Regions from separate parts of the Homo sapiens genome. Here regions 1, 2, 3 and 4 are each linked to region 5. The links are contacts of gene promoters, found by promoter capture Hi-C in human tissues and cell types (Jung and others, 2019). All regions are on one chromosome and are shown on one strand. Each heading gives the region's core, a stretch centred on a gene start or on the middle of the fragment in contact. The rest is flanking DNA. Distances are from core to core; before and after follow the strand shown. Region 1 overlaps EPS15L1 (epidermal growth factor receptor pathway substrate 15 like 1). Region 2 overlaps EPS15L1 (epidermal growth factor receptor pathway substrate 15 like 1). Region 3 overlaps EPS15L1 (epidermal growth factor receptor pathway substrate 15 like 1). Region 4 holds the start of CYP4F11 (cytochrome P450 family 4 subfamily F member 11). Region 5 holds the start of CIB3 (calcium and integrin binding family member 3).

Region 1 (3,372 bases), core at 867-3,366, 200 kb after region 5:
TCTTCAGCGGTGAGCTCTGACTGATCTTGATCTCCGGTCCGTTGCAGAAAATATACCATTGTTTACCTGGGGGAGGTGTGTGCCACGGCTAACTTTAACCTAACTCTAACTGACAGGTTTCGGCAGCCTGCCGGGTCTGTGCTGCATCTGCCTGAAAGAAACCAGTTTCTTCTGCCCAAAACAGACACCTGCTGGTTATTTAATACCTTGATACACCTTTCTTGAAAAGACCTCCAGGCAAGAAGAACTTAGTGCCCACACCAAAGCTCCATGCATGCCCCAGGAGATGGCCCTTGGTGGTCCCCAGAGTGCACTTTCTGGCTTAGATGGAGACAGAACTGAGTATGTGGCCTTGAGGGCAGATGGCCAACTGTGGGCTACTCAGCTGTACGCTGTGACCGGAACTCTCCCTCGAGGAACCTCTGCAGGTTCCCAGGTGGAGGGGTCCACCTGTGACTGTCCAGGTCAACACCTGTCTGCCCGTGCACCCACACTGCATGCCAGCCACACCAAATGTCAATTTCACCTCAATTGACCTTTAAACAAAATAAGACAAGCAGCTCCCACGGAATTTGAAAACTGCAGCCTCTAGAACACAAGAGATGGCACCAAAGCCACACGTGACTCAGACCCAAACTCACATTTGGTCCTGTATGAGCGATGACCCACAGAGGACGCTGGAGCCCTCTTTGAAGTTCAACTCCCTGCACGCTTTTTTTAACGGAAAAGATTTCCACTAAACTGTGACCTCACAGGGAGAAAAGGGCCCAATTAATGACTCCCAGAATGTGTGCAGCCACCTCAGCTGCCCAGCCTGTCTTTCCTGGAAAAGGTGCCCATATGGCAGAAGCCTGCGTCCCGGTCCCTGTGCCGCAGGGTGGGGATGGGGGCTACAGACCACATACAGCACGTCACCGTGCAAGGCGCTTCACCCACACACCCACCTGCTAGGCCTGAGTGGGTCCCATGGTCAGGCAGGAAAACTGAGGCTCAGGGAGGTTAAGTGACCCACCCGGGGCCTCCCTTTCCTCCAATGTCCAGAAACCAGCCTGATCAAGCAGTCCCCTGGATTCTAGCAGAATTGGCTGCCCAGAGGACAGAAGGAAGCGGCCTCAGTTCTCCTGTCCTGGCCTCACACATCAGCCATTTCCTGGCACAGAGGCCTAGCAGGGTTCTAGAAACCTCTGGGTGCCCTGGGATGGACAAACCCTGGATGGGAGCATGGGACATCAGACATGTTCCATGTGCCAGGCGGAGAGATGACAGAAAAGCTTGTTCCTTCATTGTGATTTCCATGAGTGCAGGTGTCAACGCTGTGTGCATGTTTAAGACTGCCCACTGGACAGCCTATGGGTCCTTCAGACTTTTTGTCAGTCTGTCTATCTCCACCAGCTCAAGGCTCGACCGCCAGGCTCACAGGGGGTCGCATTTCACCTTCCTCCTCACTCAGCCACGCTGGGACCCACGCATCTCGCGCAAAGCCCCAGCATCTGGGAAGCCCTGGGGTGGCCAGGGGAAGGCGGCCGTCACTGTGTGCTGGCCGTGTGGTCTCCCTGAGCAGAAAAAGCCTGGGGTAGCAAGAAAGGCAGAAAGGCTTTTTTTGGTTTGTTTGTTTGTTTTAAGAAAACATAAAGTCCAGCAGTTTGAAAACGTTGGACTTTATGCTTAAAAAAAAAAAAAAAAATTCACAGATTAGCTTCACTATCTTCTGTCTTAAAGAAGCCAAGAAAACAAGAGATCTGCCTTGTGTCTTCCTGGCGAACTTTCTGAGCACGACTTCACCCGACACTCATCTGCTGACCGCTCTTGCCCATAACCAGAGGCCTCCTGGGCTGCACGTGGGTCTGTGCCGTGTGGCCAGGAACCGGGAAGGGAATTGTACAGAGCCCGGCTCTGATTCCCTTGACCAGAGAGCAAGGGTAGGGCAAGCATCTTCCTTTGCAATTCCCCAAAGAGCCAAACACTTCTCCCCAACATGTGACTCACCAAAGGTCAACCACTGGGTCAACTCAGTGTTTGGACTGTTAGAGGTTAGTACGGAATCACAGCACAAATAATGCTGCAAGCTCAAACGGCAACCACCACACGGTCTGTACCTACCACCCAGCAGCGAGTACAATGCAGAATTTTTCTGTTCAGCCATTGCTTCTGGGTAAAAGAATCAAATGAGAAATATTTAGGCCTCCACACAGATCTGCAGTTGCTCCGGACTTAAAATGCTGCGCGTGCATTGGCTGTTTTAGAGAATGTTCTGAAGCTCATGGCTTGGTTCTCGTTACTCCTGTCTTGGGGCAGGAGGCAGGTCACTGGGTGTAGACCTGGCCCTGCTGCCACCTTGCTGTGTGACCTTGGGGAGCCCCCATGACCTCCCTCCCCGCCTTTCCTCTTCCAGGAAATGGGCATGGCCTGGCCTGTCTCCCTCACGGGTCTTGCTGGGACCTAGTGAGATAAGAACTGTTCAAGCACTTCCTAAGGGCCCATCAATGTTAATATATTTCTGCAGAGCACCGAGTGGCACAGCAACCATCAACCACAGCAGAACAAAGATGCAGTGGCCTGTGCCACGAGTAAAGGAGCCCAGGACCCCCTGGGTCTCAAATTGTGCAACAGCTCCCTAAAAAGCCTGAACCCTGAAGCCAGGCCCAAGGAAGTCACCCAAACTCCCGTTATCAAACGTTCTACTTTTAACAAGCATTCTTTTCTGCTTTCGAAGCCCACAGTACACTAACAGCAGAAGCCAAGGTGGGGTGGGTAGGCTTGCAGAGGGAGACACGATGGGAGGTGATAACTGAGGGAAAGTTCAAAAGCAGACCCAGCGCCGGGTTTAGGTACGTGGGGAGGCGGGGGTGGCGGTTTCCATGAAACACTGAAAATGAAGCTTTGCACCTGTGAGCTGTTGAGTGGGATGGCTCCTCCTCAGGGCCCAGCAAATACGGCACTGCTCGGCAAGTGTGTGCACCCATATGAGAATACGTGCACATGTGTGTAAATGTGTGTACACGTATGTAAGCACAGAGTGTGCATGCCCGGGTGTGTATGAGCACACACGCACGCATATGTGTGTGCACGTTTGCATGCATGCATTATGCAATATCTGTGTAATGCTCACCTGTATTCATGTATATGTTCACATGTGAATATGTGCATGTCTCAATGAATGCATGCACATATATAAGCATGGAGGGTGTGCATGCCCAGCTGTTATCTATGAGAGCATGTGTGTGTGCAGGCATGCACAATGCAGTATGTGAGTGCATGCTGCTCATCTCTATGCATGCATGTGTGTACTGACAAGAGAATATGCACACATGTCCACAGATGCATATAAGCATGGAGAGTGTGCACGGAGGGGTGCATGGGAGAGTGCGTGTG
Region 2 (3,468 bases), core at 229-2,728, 220 kb after region 5:
GAGGTCAAGAGTGTGAGACGAGCCTGGCTAACACGGTGAAACCCCGTCTCTACTAAAAATACAAAAAATTAGCCGGGCGTGGTAGCGGGCGCCTGTAGTCCCAGCTACTTGGGAGGCTGAGGCAGGAGAATGGCGTGAACCCGGGAGGCGGAGCTTGCAGTGAGCCGAGATCGCGCCACTGCACTCCAGCCTGGGCGACAGAGCGAGACTCCGTCTCAAAAAAAAAAAAAATAAAAAATAAATAAATAAATAAATAAATAAAATAAATAAATAAATTAGCAAGCAATGTGATCCCACCACACTCCAGGGTGGGGTGCGGGCAGTGACTGGACCTGGGGAGGGGAGCCACCTCCAGAAGGGAACGGGACCGAGAATGGGTACAACATGGATGGACGGCCGTCCTTCCCAGTTACATGGCTGCCATCCCCGGTGTATGTGGACACAAGTCCCACCACATGCGACTTCTGAGCCAGGACTGGACACAGTCTAAAGACCGGTCCGGGAAACACTGAATTTTACCTGTTGAAGTTGTCTGCTGTTCTGCAAAGGGGTCATTCTGGAACGGGTCGCCTGGTTGGAAGAGGAGAGAAATGCTTATTAGCTCTAGGGCACAGGATGCGGGCCGGGCCCTTGGACACAGCCACCCACCTCCCAAGCCTTTCATTGCCTTCTACTCCTCCAGTGTAGGGAGAGAATGTTAGTTCCTTCTCTACTATCCACCTGCCCTCAAAACCTTGGCAAATCAAAGAGGGGGACCTGGAGGAGGCAGCTGTTTCTGGCTAGGATGTTTAAGATGAGAAGGAAGGTACTGCTGGCTGTCCCACACAGACTGGAGTTGGGGAAGACACAGAGTGGGCTAGAATTCACTCCTCTCTTCCCATGCTGGGTTTCCTTTATCCCATCTGCCTGCCAGCTCCCTGGGTAAGAGGACACAGGACCCTGGGCTGTCCCTCACTTTATCACCGGCCCTGCAGCAATGAGGCGGCGGCACCCCTGGGCTTCAGGGGCTGCCAGATTCGCCTCTCAGACCCGGCAGGCTTCAAACCCAAGCTGAAGCTCAAGCTCCCGCTGCCCTCTCCCCACCTCAGTGTTTTTCTCAAAAATGTAGAGAGCCTTCCTCCTGGAAATACTGTTTTGCTCTGAAACATGGACAGAAACTTGGAAATCTTGTTTCTGGAATTCTTAGTTATTCTTGACTCAGGTGTGGCTCTGGACAGACTCCTAAAATTATCCAGACCTTAGGTTTATGTAGGAATCCATGGTTTTCCAGGTACTTTCATGATCATTACTAGCTCTGATTATTTTATCAACCCTGTGAGGTGAGCAAGGAGGAAATTTATTAACCTGCTGAGGGATTAGGAAACTGAAGTACTGAAGGGTTCAAGGGGGCTGGCCAAGCTGCCTTCAAATGTGGGTCTTGTGGTGAGCTTGGAACACTTCCCACTGTATCTTGATGCCTTGGCTCTCTGGTTAACAGGGTGAGATAAGAAGCTTAAAAGGCGTTCCTGCTGGGTGCGGTGCCTCACACCTGTAATCCCAGCACTTTGTGGGGCTGAGGCGGGTGGATTACCTGAGGTCAAGAGTTCGAGACCAGACTGGGCAACACAGTGAAACCCCAACTCTACTAAATATACAAAAATTAGCCGGGTGCGGTGATGGGCGCTGAGGCAGGAGAATTGCTTGAACCCAGGAGGCGGAGGTTGCAGTGAGCCGAGATTGCGCCACTGCATTCCAGCCTGGCTGACAGCAAGAGAGCGAGAGTTCGTCTCCAAAAAAAAAAAAAAAAAAGGCATTCCTTTCCCCCTCCATTTCAGATTGTGGCATGTCCTTACTTTTCTAGTTGAAGAACCACTCTAAATTCGACATAAAACACACAGTCTTTCAATGAGAAAGTGGGTAGCAAGTGAGATACCTTTGAAGGGGTCAGCTCCTTTAAATGGGTCAGATTTGAAGGGGTCTTCTGTCTGGAAAGGATCCGGATGCAACTCTTGCGTGTTGTTGCTAAATAACAAGGCTTTATTTTTGAAAGGATCATCCTACAATTTTGTGAAGAAACAGGACAGGGATTTTATTATTTCTGAGTTAAAGCAAAGTACGGAATTCCATACTTAACTCACATTTCCACTTTGAGTAGCATGACCCTAAAAAGAATGATTTAGCCAGGAGTTCGAGGCTGGCCTGGGCAACATAGCAAAATCCCATCTCTATAAAAACAAAAATTTAAAAATGAGGCCAGGCATGGTGGCTCACGCCTGTAATCCCAGCACTTTGGGAGGCCAAAGCAGGTGGATCACCTGAGGTCAGGAGTTCAAGACCAGCCTGGCCAACATGGTGAAAACCTGTCTCTACTAAAAATACAAAAAATTAGCTGGGTGTTGTGCCGGGCACCTGTAATCCCAGCTACTTGGGAGGCTGAGGCAGGAGAACTGCTTGAACCCAGGAGGTGGAGGTTGCAGTGAGCTGAGATTACGCCATTGCGCTCCAGCCTGGGCGATAGAGTGAGTCTATCTCAAAAAAAAAAAAAAAAAAATCAAGGTGTGGTGGCGTGTACCTATAATCCCAGCTACTTGGGAGGTTGACTCAGGAGATTGCCTGAACCCAGGAGGTGGAGGTTACAGTGAGCTATGATTGTGCCACTGCACTCCAGCCACAACAGTGCAAGACCCTGTATCTTTAAAAAAAAAAATTAATTAAAGATCATTGAAGAAGTATGAACTTGAGTGAATAATAATGTTTAATACTGGTTCATTAGTTGTGACAAATGTACTATATATGATGTGACTAACAGGAGGAACTGGGTGTGGGATATAGAGGAACTATGCACTATCTTTGCAGTTTTTCTTTTTCTGAAACAGGGTCTCACTCTGTTGTCCAGGTTGGAGTGCAGTTGCACACTCATGGGTTACTCCAGCCTTGACCATCTGGGCTCAAGTGATCCTCCCACGTCGGTCTCCCGAGTAGCCAGGACTATAGGCGCGCACCACCAAGCCTGGCTAATTTTTATATTTTTTGTAGAAATGAAGTCTCTCACTATGTTGCCAGGGCTGGTTTTGAACTCCTGAGCTCAACTGATCCTCCCACCTCAGCCTCCCAACGTACTGGGATTATAGGCATGAGCTACCGCACCTGGCCTATCTTTGCAATTTTTTCATAAATCTAAAAACTATTCTAAAATAAAAGTTCATTAAAAAATCATTGAGTGGAAGCAACTCAAATGTCCATCGATGAATGAATGGATAAACGGAAAAACAAAATTTTTTTCTAAGTCAGAAAAAAATAATGAATTTGAAATGTCATCAAGAAAATTGTAACGAGCCACACAACAGAATCTGATTCAGCCTTCAAAAGGAAGCAAATTCTGACACATGCTCCAACATGGAAGAACCTTGAGGAGAGGCTGCTGAGTGAAATCACAGTCACAAAACAACACACAAGGTATGATTCCACTTCTATGAGAACCCTAGAGTC
Region 3 (3,111 bases), core at 582-3,081, 250 kb after region 5:
TTCCCCCAAGCCACTAAGTAACATCCTGAATTTCACTGCTCTACTTGGAGGTATTTGCCTCTCGAGAATTATCCAGCAATTCTTTCCTTTTGATAGCTCCCAAGTGAAGCCTTCTCTAAGGCCACAAGGCTCTGAGCAACAAGCTCAAAAGTGACTTCAGCCCTGGCCAGTGGCAAGAGGAGTGCCCCAGCCCTATGAAGTCGGCTGTGTCCAGCCCTGGGGGAAAGAGGGGTTGAGGCCGACTCCTCGACTGGGCTCTGAGGCACTGACAGGGTCTCCTTGTGCTCACCCTCCCGCCAGGAGCCAAAGCACTGGCCTTTCCAGAGCAGGGCCTCCTGCCCCCGCCCTCACCCTGCCAGGCCACTCTGCTAGAGGCTCCAAGGCCCTGCTGCCCGCACCTCCCGGAGGCGGCTGTGACAAAGTCCAGGCCTCCTGTTAGAGCCAGCATCACAGCCAGCAAGAATAGGGCCCAGCTGTGTAAGCAAATGGCCTGGGAGCACTTAAGACGGACCAGAGGCCCTTCCTACTGAAAGACAGTGAACTGACCGTCACGGAGCGCGGGCTTCGAGCCTTGGCACGTGCACCTTGCTCAGCCTCTGTCAGGCCAGGGAGAATAAAGGACGCCAGACACAGCGGAAGCCTGTGACAGGCTGGAGGGGGCCCCCTGACCACCACCCTCCACAGTCTTCACCCACAGGCCCCCTGGAGCCACCCACAGCCACAACTGCCACCTGTCCGGCCTTACCATATGTGTGCTAGAAGGTTCTGGGTGAGGCCCGAGTGCATGAAGATCTCCTTCACCTCCTGGCCACTCACGTAGCCATCCAGGTCCAGGTCGGTCTTCAGGAATATCTCATCAAATCGCATCTTGTCTGCCACGGGCACCACCCAGTTCACTGTTGGCTGAAACAGTTTTTGGCAAAACAGTTAATCTGGAAGCTTTTTATGACCCCCAGACACATGCTTTTTGATGATGGGGCGATTAAAGCACTTCCATGCACATTTGGCATCAAACTCTCCTCACTTCCATGAGCCAAGAGGGCAGATGTGATCCTTGTTCTGTAACTGGCAAAACTGAGGCTGAGACAGGTTGAGGCTGGCTCTGTGAAGCTCACCCAGATGCCAGTCTGCACCTCTCTCCACCCCATCACCCGCTCTCCTTGTCCATCCACCCTGCCACCCAGGGTGTGAGGGAGGCTGTGATCTTCAGGGGATGGGTTCAAGCATGCCAGGAAAGACCCTCCCGAGCACCCACTTGGAAGGACCGTCCCTGGAGAACCGGCCCGGCCACATGCCAGCCTCCCTGGTCCTCCCACTCCTCAGCCCGCAAAGGCTGCCCTACAGGCAGCCAAAGTGTCCTGTCCCAGGACTCTGAAGACCACCCTTCTATGTCCCTGCCCCACTCCTGAGACAACAAAGATACCCCCAAGGTGTGAGTACACACACGTCACTGACAGGTAACAAATGAGACACCACCATCCAAGAGGGCCACCACCCACGAGGCCCCACCAACATTCATGCAGCCCCAACCCCACCAGGGCAGATGGAGCCACGAGCCCAGTGCAGCTCAAAGTTCACAGCCCTGGGGCTGGGTCACCCGCTGCACGTGCGACCCCTCTCGCCACCAGCTCACAGTTAACTTGAGAGAGGCAAACGCCATCATGGGTCAACCAGGGCCCGGTCACCTCCTGGTTCAGAGGCATTGAGGCCCCTCAGGCACTCAGGGGCAGGCCCCTTCCGTGGCCTACTCCACCTGCATTACCGCGGGCCTTCAATACACCCACCACGCCACAGTTCACGGCATCTGTGTCCTGAACTCTAGACGTGCTTTTCCTCTTCCCTTTTTTTTTAAATATTTACACAAATCACTCCTTTTAAACAATCTCATAATAGCAATGAGAATAAACACCTGATTGAATTATCTAGATGATGAGGGAGTGGAGAGAAAAAGGACAGGCAAATGTGGCTGGAGGGATCGATTGTTCCTTCTCCACGCAGCAACTGTACAGAAAAGCCACTCCACTCCTCACCTTCAATGAACGCCATGATGCCTGAAACTGCCACTCAAAGTCATTCCTCTCAGTTATGAAAGGATTTCTTAGGCTGGGTGCAGTGGCTCACACCTATAATCCCAGCACTTTGGGAGGCTGAGGTGGGTGGATCACCTGAGGCCAGGAGTTTGAGACCAGATTGGCCAACATGGTGAAACCCCCTCTCTACTAAAAACACGAAAAATTAGCCAGGTGTGGTGGTAGGCACCTGTGATCCCAGCTACTCAGGAGGCTGAGGCAGGAGAATTGCTTGAACCTGGGAGGCAGAAGTTGCAGGGAGCTGAGATTGTGCCACTGCACTCCAGCCTGGGCGACAGAGCAAGACTCCGTCTCGGGGAAAAAAAAAGGGGGGGGGGATTTCTCAAAGAGTTCTCACAGTGTTGACAACCCGAAGATGTCCATAGGATTGAGGAGAAGGGACTCATGGTCAAGACTGGGAAACAATGGTTAAACTCGTTTACTCTTCATGAACGAGTCTCCTGTGATGTCCAAATCTAACAGGCTCCTGATACCAACTCAGGGAAATCAGAAAGCAAGCTTGGGAAACAAGGGATACCATGTGACCCAGATCAGCTTAGTTCAGGGGTTTCACGTAGCAAGTATGTGTGATGAAGTACAGCAAGGACTTGATCAAACAATTTATCAAAATCCATGGAGCTAGGCCAGGCACAGTGCTCATGCCTGTAATCTCAGCACTTTGGGAGGCCAAGGCAGGAGGATCCCTCAAGCCCAGGAGTTCAAGACCAGCCAGCATAACACAGCAAGACCCCATCTCTACAAAATAAATAAATAAATAAAATTAGCTAGGTGTGGTGGCATCCACCTATTCCAGCTACTAGGGAGGCTGAGGTGGAAGGATCACTTGAGCCCAGGAGGTTGAGATAGCAATGAGCCGTGATTGCACCACTGCACTCCAGCCAGGGCAGCAGAGCAAGATCCTGTCTCTTATATATTTAAAAAAAAAAAATCTATGGATCTAATTCAAATGATGAGAGTTCAGATGGCAAGAGCAACCTGATTTTTACTTGTGGCATTGTACTGTGTAAATTTTGTGAGCCTT
Region 4 (3,419 bases), core at 334-2,833, 240 kb before region 5:
AGAAGAATGAGTGAGTGAGGAGAGGAATGAGTGAGTGAGGAGAGGAATGAGTGAGTGAGGAGAGGAATGAGTGAGTGAGGAGAGGAATGAGTGAGTGAGGAGAGGAATGAGTGAGTGAGGAGAGGAATGAGTGAGTGAGGAGAAGAATGAGTGAGTGAGGAGAGGAATGAGTGAGCGAGGAGAGGAATGAGTGAGCGGGGAGAGGAATGAGTGAGTGGGGAGAGGAATGAGTGAGTGAGGAGAGGAATGAGTGAGTGAGGAGAGGAATGAGTGAGTGAGGAGAGGAATGAGTGAGCGGGGAGAGGAATGAGTGAGCGAGGAGAGGAATGAGTGAGTGAGGAGAGGAATGAGTGAGTGAGGAGAGGAATGAGTGAGTGAGGAGAAGAATGAGTGAGTGAGGAGAAGAATGAGTGAGTGAGGAGAGGAATGAGTGAGTGAGGAGAGGAATGAGTGAGTGAGGAGAGGAATGAGTGAGTGAGGAGAAGAATGAGTGAGTGAGGAGAGGAATGAGTGAGTGAGGAGAAGAATGAGTGAGTGAGGAGAGGAATGAGTGAGTGAGGAGAAGAATGAGTGAGTGAGGAGAGGAATGAGTGAGTGAGGAGAAGAATGAGTGAGTGAGGAGAGGAATGAGTGAGTGAGGAGAAGAATGAGTGAGTGAGGAGAAGAATGAGTGAGTGAGGAGAGGAATGAGTGAGTGAGGAGAAGAATGAGTGAGTGAGGAGAGGAATGAGTGAGTGAGGAGAAGAATGAGTGAGTGAGGAGAAGAATGAGTGAGTGAGGAGAGGAATGAGTGAGTGAGGAGAAGAATGAGTGAGTGAGGAGAGGAATGAGTGAGTGAGCAGAGGAATGAGTGAGTGAGGAGAAGAATGAGTGAGTGAGGAGAAGAATGAGTGAGTGAGGAGAGGAATGAGTGAGTGAGCAGAGGAATGAGTGAGCGAGAAGAGGAATGAGTGAGTGGGCAGAGGAATGAGTGAGCGGGGAGAGGAATGAGTGAGCGGGGAGAGGAATGAGTGAGCGGGGAGAGGAATGAGTGAGCGGGGAGAGGAATGAGTGAGTGGGCAGAGGAATGAGTGAGTGGGCAGAGGAATGAGTGAGCGGGGAGAGGAATGAGTGAGTGGGCAGAGGAATGAGTGAGCTGCCTCCCTCTCTTCTCTGTGTTCCCACACCCCAGCCACCCTCAAAACCCAGCTCCCTGAGCCCCATTCCTGCCCCTCAGGAACTCCATGCATCCTGAGACCCCAGACCCGTCCTGCTGACAAACTCACCAGGCCCTGGTGTCCCCAAAACCAGTTCTGTTTCGGGGGTTGAGGAAAACACTGGAGGCGGCGGCAGTTGTCATAGAAGGTGTAGGTCCAGGCCAGGACGCGGGCCAGGAGCCAGGAGCCTCCAACCAGCAGCAGAAGCAGCCACGGGGATGCTGCCACGGGCCCGAGGCCCAGCCAGGACAGGCTCAGCTGCGGCATCCTGCAGGGCAGACGGGATGGAGGGTGGGATCCTGAGGCCCAGGGAAGGGCCCAGGAAGCTCCAAGGACAGTGGAAAGGGGCAAGGATGGGCAGTGCTGGAGGCAGATCAGGGAAGGCTCTGAGATGGGTAAACAAGAGCTGAGATCTAAAGTCCAGAAATGCCCAATGAAAACCAGCAGCCAAGTGGCCTCCAGTTACACAGAAAGGGAAAGAGAGAGAGAGGCTGATTAGAATCCAAAAAGGCCCAGCCTGAATCACTGGGAGGTTGCCAGGGGTCCAGTTACCAGGAAATCACCAGTCTCCCAGGCCAGCAGCCTTGACCCACCCCAACCTTGGGCAGTCCCCTCCCCATCCCAGGCCAGGACCCTCCAGCCCTGCCACTGCCAGCCTGGCTCCTATCAGAAGCAGCTTGTCCCACATACCCTCCTCTCCCCCTCTGCTAGGAGGTCTTTGCCTCTGGCCCCTGATTTCCGGAAGGCTGTGGGAGGCGAGGCTGGGCTGGGCTGGTCGAGCCAATCCCCATGGACTGGGTGTGTCTTCCAAGCCTGGGCAACCAACCAAAACCTGGCGTAGGGCCAGCTGGGTGCAGAGGAGCCAGCTCAGGGTGACACAGCATGGGCACAGGATCCGCAGGTCTCAACATCTCACACCTGAGTGGGAGGGGATCTTGAGGAAGAGTCAAAGGTGACTCTGAGCCCCAAAGTTTACAGCCACCTTGCCCTTCCAAGGCAAGAGTGTGGCAGATAAAGTCATGAACTTGAGAGTTCAGGTGGCAAGAGAGTGGGGCCAGGCCAACCATTGTGCCAGATCATGTTCTGAGCTCCTCTCCACATGTGGTCCAGGAGTTCATCATGCACCATTTCTCAGTGCAGACTTAGGAGATTCAGAGACAGAAGCTCCTGGCCTCTGGCTTCACAGTCTGGCAGGAGTTCAAGTCCTGCCTCCAGGCAACCCAGGGCCTGGGTCGAGACATGACTGACAGGAGTAGGAACAAACTATCTAACTGTGCTGGGGATTACCCGGTCAGATTTTAGAGATAAAGAGCCCCGCTGGAGGAGAATACCTGGAGGCTAGGTTCAGCATAGGAGGACAGAGAGGGGAGATGGGAGGTAAGGCTGAGAGGGGCCATGAGTGGATGGGGCCAGGGACAGGAGGGCAGAGATGGGGGACCCTGAGTGGAGTCCTTATTCTGCCCTCCCCTTGCCCTAACTGTGGGTAGTGAGCCCCTCCTGGACTCAGGCTTCCCATCTGGGAAATGGGATGTCAGATAAGGCCTTAGAGGGGGACAGAGGAGGGATCACAGGAAAATGGGCCTTAGATGGGGACAGATGAAAGATTCTGAGGAGGGAGTGAAGGGAAGGGGCTGGCAGCTAGCACTTTAGCTGCTGTGTGTCAGTCTCTGCTCTTTGCAAAAGACAATATGCAAAGTTCTTTTACTGTGTACTGGACTCTAAATAAAGCACACCTACCATGTGCCAGGTACTCTGTATACATGTTGTGTACTGTGTGCCAAGTGCTCTATGAAAAGTGTGTCCACTGTGTGCTGGGCGCTCTACAGAAAATCTTGCTTCTTTGTTCTCGGTCCTCTATATAAAGTGAAATTTGTGCGGAGTAACTTATGTAAAGTGTACCTACTCTGCACCTGCTGCTCTATATAAAACACACCTACTGTGTGTCAGATGTTCTATGTAGAGCATGTTTACTACGTGCCTGGTGATCTATGTCAAGTGCACCTACTGTGTGTCAAGTGCTCTACATAAAGCGTGCCTACTCTGGGTGCTGGGTACTCTTCATAAACTGTGACTCCATGTGTCCGGTACTCTACATAAAGCACACCTACTGTATGCCAGATGCTCTACATAAAGTGTTCTTTCTGTGTGTCAAGTGCTCTACATAAAGCGTGCCTACTCTGGATGCTGGGTACTCTTCATAAACTCTGACTCTGTGTGGCCGGT
Region 5 (3,544 bases), core at 435-2,934:
CATCAATAATGGATGTCCTGTTACTACACAACTGGGGCCTTGGCCCCGATCACACTGCAGCTGAACCCTGGCCAGCTTGGGTTTCATAGCTCCAAGTTCATGGGTCGGGGCCCCTGGGCAATGGCCCCACAGGCCGAGTGATGATGTGGGATACTCATCTGTGCCCATCGTGCTGGGTCACGCCAGGGACCTGCAGCAGCCTTGGGCCACCTCCTCACACCCTCATCTTAATGCCAAGCCCACAACCCAGACTGGGCTCTGGACTTTGCACCTGGGCTCCCAGCCTCAAGTCCCAGTCTCAGGAGAATCTTTATCTTTCATTTTGTTTTTCTGAGGCAGAGTCTAGCTCTGTCACCCAGGCTGGAGCACAGTGGCGTGATCTCGGCTCACTGCAACCTCCACCTCCCAGGTTCAAGCAATTCTCCTGCCTCAGCCTCTTGAGTAGCTGGGATTACAGGCACCCACCACCTCGCCCAGCTGATTTTTGTATTATTAGCAGAGATGGGGTTTCACCATGTTGGCCAGGCTGATCTTAAACTCCTGACCTCAGGTGATCCACCCACCTTGTCCTCCCAAAGTGCTGGGATTACAGGCATGAGCCACCGCGCCCAGCCTCAGGAGAATCTTTCTAACGTGCTGATGGTCTCTCCCCTGCTCATGCATGCTCCATAGCTCCCTGCCACCCTTGGGAGAAAGCCCAAGCTCATCAGCCTAGAGACTGGGACAGTATGACAAGATGTGACTTGTCAGCTTCTCCATCTCTGCCTCTGTCCACTGACCACACCTGCCCCCCTTCCCCATTTGAGTCCCAACAAATTGGAAATACCAGTTGGGCATGGTGGCTCACACCTGTAATCCCAGCACTTTGGGAGGCTGAGGCAGGGGGATCGCTTGAGCCCAAGGGTTTAAGACCAGCCTGGGCAACATAGTGAGAGCCCCATCTCTATAAAAAAATACAAAAATGAGGTACATGTGGTGGCTCGCACCAGTGGTCCTAGCTACTCGAGAGGCTGAGGTGGGAGGATCACCTGACCTTGGGAGATCGAGCCTGCAATGAGCCATGATTGCACCACTGCACTCCAGCCCAGGCAATAGAGACAGACCCTGTCTCAAAAAAAAAGAAAAGAAGGAAGGAAGGAAGGAAGGGAGGGAGGGAGGGAGAGAGAGAGAGAAAAGAGAAAGAAAGAAAGAAAGACTACTTACACACACACACACACACACACACACACACACACACACACACACCAAATTGCAAATATCCTCCAGCAATGAATAGAAAGTTGTTTTTCCAGATCTTCTCTCCCTTCCTCCCTGGACTGACCTCATGATCTCCTTCCTTGTGAAAAATGTGCAGTCCTGTGGAGAGAGGTGTTGTCTTAACCCGAACCCTGCCTCTGGGGCCTCCTCCCACGGCCTCCTCCCTCCACCCCACACTCACACAGATGGCCTGATGCTGCCACACACAGAGCAGAACCAGGAACCCAGGCGGACGGTACACCCAGATGAAGGCATTCTGTTCCCATTTCCCAGACCACGGAACCAAAGTTGTCAAACCCACTGAGGACCCATCCTGCCCCCCTCTACCTGATACGCTTCCAGCTGCTCGTGTGTGAAGACTGTCTGCTTGTTGCCCATGGTGTGAACCACAGCCCAGACTTGGGGATGCACCCCAAAGGCTCCCAGCTTCCTCGGGGCCACACGGGTTGCCAGGCTGTTGTGTACCAGTGTCTGGGCAAATCTCCCTGCCCTGGCTGTCACCCACCCACCTACGCCATCACCCCCTGCTTGATGAGACTCAAATTACAGCCAGGCTCTCTGGACAACAGCCTGAATGTGTCCATGGGTAAGGATAAGGGCTGTGGGATGTCACAGAGAAGACCTCAGTGGGGAGGCCACATCTGCCACCACAAGGTGAGGCTGGGGTTATGGGGCACACTCAAGAGACAGGCAGGGTATACAGAAGGGCTATGGGCACACTGCAGCTCAAATCCCAGCTCTCTGCCCACTAGCTGTGTGGCCCTGGGCAAGTCACCTGACTTCTCTGAACCTCATTCATGAGATGAAAATTACATTATACCTACCTCATAGGGTCATTCTCAGGATCTGAGATTTAAAAAAAAAAAAAAAAGGTTTTGACTGGGCAAGGTGGCTCACACCTGTAATCCCAGCACTTTGGGAGGGCCAGGCAGGCGGATCACCTGAGGTCAGGAGTTCAAGACCAGCCTGGCCAACACGGCAAAACCCCATCTCTACTAAAAATACAAAAATTAGCTTGGCATTGTGACACATGCCTGTAATCCCAGCTACTCCAGAGACTGAGGCAGGAGAATTGCTTGAACCCAGGAGGTGGAGGTTGCAGTGAGCCGAGATCCCGCCATTGCACTCCAGACTGGGTGACAGAGTAAGACTCCATCTCCAAAAAAAAAAAAAAGGTTTTGGCTGGGCGAGGTGGCTCATACCTGTAATCCCAGCACTTTAGGAGGACAAAGCATGAGATTCACTTGAGGCCAGGAGTTCAAGATCAGCTTGGGCAGCATGGCAAGGCCCTATCTCTACTAAAAATACAAAAATTAGCTGGATGTGGTGGTGCATGCCTGTGGTCCCAGCTACTCAGGAGGCTGAGGTGGGAGGATTGCTTGAGCCCAGGAGTTTGAGGCTGCAGTGAGCCATGATTGCATCACTGCATTGGGAACATAATGGTGAACAAGCTAGATGAAGTTCTGGGGTGTGCATTGACATTATTATTTTATTACATTTTATTTTTTTGAGACAGTCTCACTCTGTTGCCCAGGCTGGAGTGCAGTGGTGTGATCTCGGTTCACTGCAATCTCTGCCTCCCAGGTTCAAGTGATTCTCCTGCCTCAGCATCCCAGGTAGCTGGGACCACAGGTGTCCACCATGCCAAGCTAATTTTTTTTGTATTTTTTTTTTTTGAGACGGAGTCTCGCTCTGTCACCCAGTCTAGGGTGCAGTGGCGTGATCTCGGCTCACTGCAAGCTCCACCTCCCGAGTTCAGGCCATTCTCCTGCCTCAGCCTCCCGAGTAGCTGGGATTATTACAGGCGCCCACCACCACGCCTGGCTAAGTTTTGTATTTTTAGTAGAGACAGAGTTTCACTATGTTGGCCAGGCTGGTCTCGAACTCCTGACCTCAGGTGATCCACCCGCCTCGGCCTCCCAAAGTGCTGGAATTACATGTGTGAGCCACCTCGCCCGGCCCAAAGGGCAGATCTAATGTAGCAGCTACCAACTTTATTAAGGCCCAGAATCCTCTTGGGTGGAGAATCTGAGAGTCTAAATTTCTTAGCCTGGCCCTCCATGCCCTTCTCACTTTGGGTCTCACCTGTGTTTTCTCTACCTGGCCTGGACTATTGCAATGTTTCCCAGCAGGCTTTCCTGCCTCGGCCTCATCAAGCATCCTCTGCCAAATCTGTGCAGTCATCTTGTAAAATGTGACCCTGATCAGGCTTGAAAGATGCCTCAAGGATGACTTTTTTTTTTTTTTGAGACAGGGTCTCACTCTGTCACCCAGGCTGGAGAGCAGT

Evidence for each region. The method cuts DNA at HindIII sites, captures the fragments that hold promoters and counts their contacts. A contact is called where the count stands out against the background at its distance.
Region 1: a contact is called between a fragment that was not itself captured here and the fragment with the promoter of CIB3 in region 5, in 2 of the 25 tissues and cell types used here (lymphoblastoid cells and spleen).
Region 2: a fragment that was not itself captured here is called in contact with the fragment with the promoter of CIB3 in region 5 in 1 of the 25 tissues and cell types used here (spleen).
Region 3: a contact is called between a fragment that was not itself captured here and the fragment with the promoter of CIB3 in region 5, in 1 of the 25 tissues and cell types used here (spleen).
Region 4: the fragment with the promoter of CYP4F11 here is called in contact with the fragment with the promoter of CIB3 in region 5 in 1 of the 25 tissues and cell types used here (adrenal gland).

What each region holds. Positions count from the first base shown.
Region 1 is chr19:16,371,815-16,375,186 of GRCh38, forward strand. All of the region lies in intron 22 of EPS15L1 (epidermal growth factor receptor pathway substrate 15 like 1), which reads right to left. Among named protein-coding and RNA genes, the nearest start is that of KLF2, 49 kb to the left of the region's middle. RefSeq lists enhancers at 1-78, 219-288. The HindIII fragment of the contact is 3,944 bases long and covers 145-3,372 here.
Region 2 is chr19:16,393,432-16,396,899 of GRCh38, forward strand. It overlaps EPS15L1 (epidermal growth factor receptor pathway substrate 15 like 1), which reads right to left. Exons shown (of 24, transcript NM_001258374.3): 17 at 1,913-2,036; 18 at 520-570. Among named protein-coding and RNA genes, the nearest start is that of KLF2, 70 kb to the left of the region's middle. The HindIII fragment of the contact is 3,745 bases long and covers 1-3,351 here.
Region 3 is chr19:16,420,574-16,423,684 of GRCh38, forward strand. It overlaps EPS15L1 (epidermal growth factor receptor pathway substrate 15 like 1), which reads right to left. Exons shown (of 24, transcript NM_001258374.3): 10 at 746-903. Among named protein-coding and RNA genes, the nearest start is that of EPS15L1, 50 kb to the right of the region's middle. RefSeq lists enhancers at 1-336, 337-940. The HindIII fragment of the contact is 3,343 bases long and covers 161-3,111 here.
Region 4 is chr19:15,932,946-15,936,364 of GRCh38, forward strand. It overlaps CYP4F11 (cytochrome P450 family 4 subfamily F member 11), which reads right to left and starts at 1,584. Exons shown (of 12, transcript NM_021187.4): 1 at 1,266-1,584. The coding sequence starts at 1,463. The HindIII fragment of the contact is 18,991 bases long and covers 1-3,419 here.
Region 5 is chr19:16,171,841-16,175,384 of GRCh38, forward strand. It overlaps CIB3 (calcium and integrin binding family member 3), which reads right to left and starts at 1,685. Exons shown (of 6, transcript NM_054113.4): 1 at 1,585-1,685; 2 at 1,322-1,356. The coding sequence starts at 1,635. The HindIII fragment of the contact is 31,728 bases long and covers 1-3,544 here.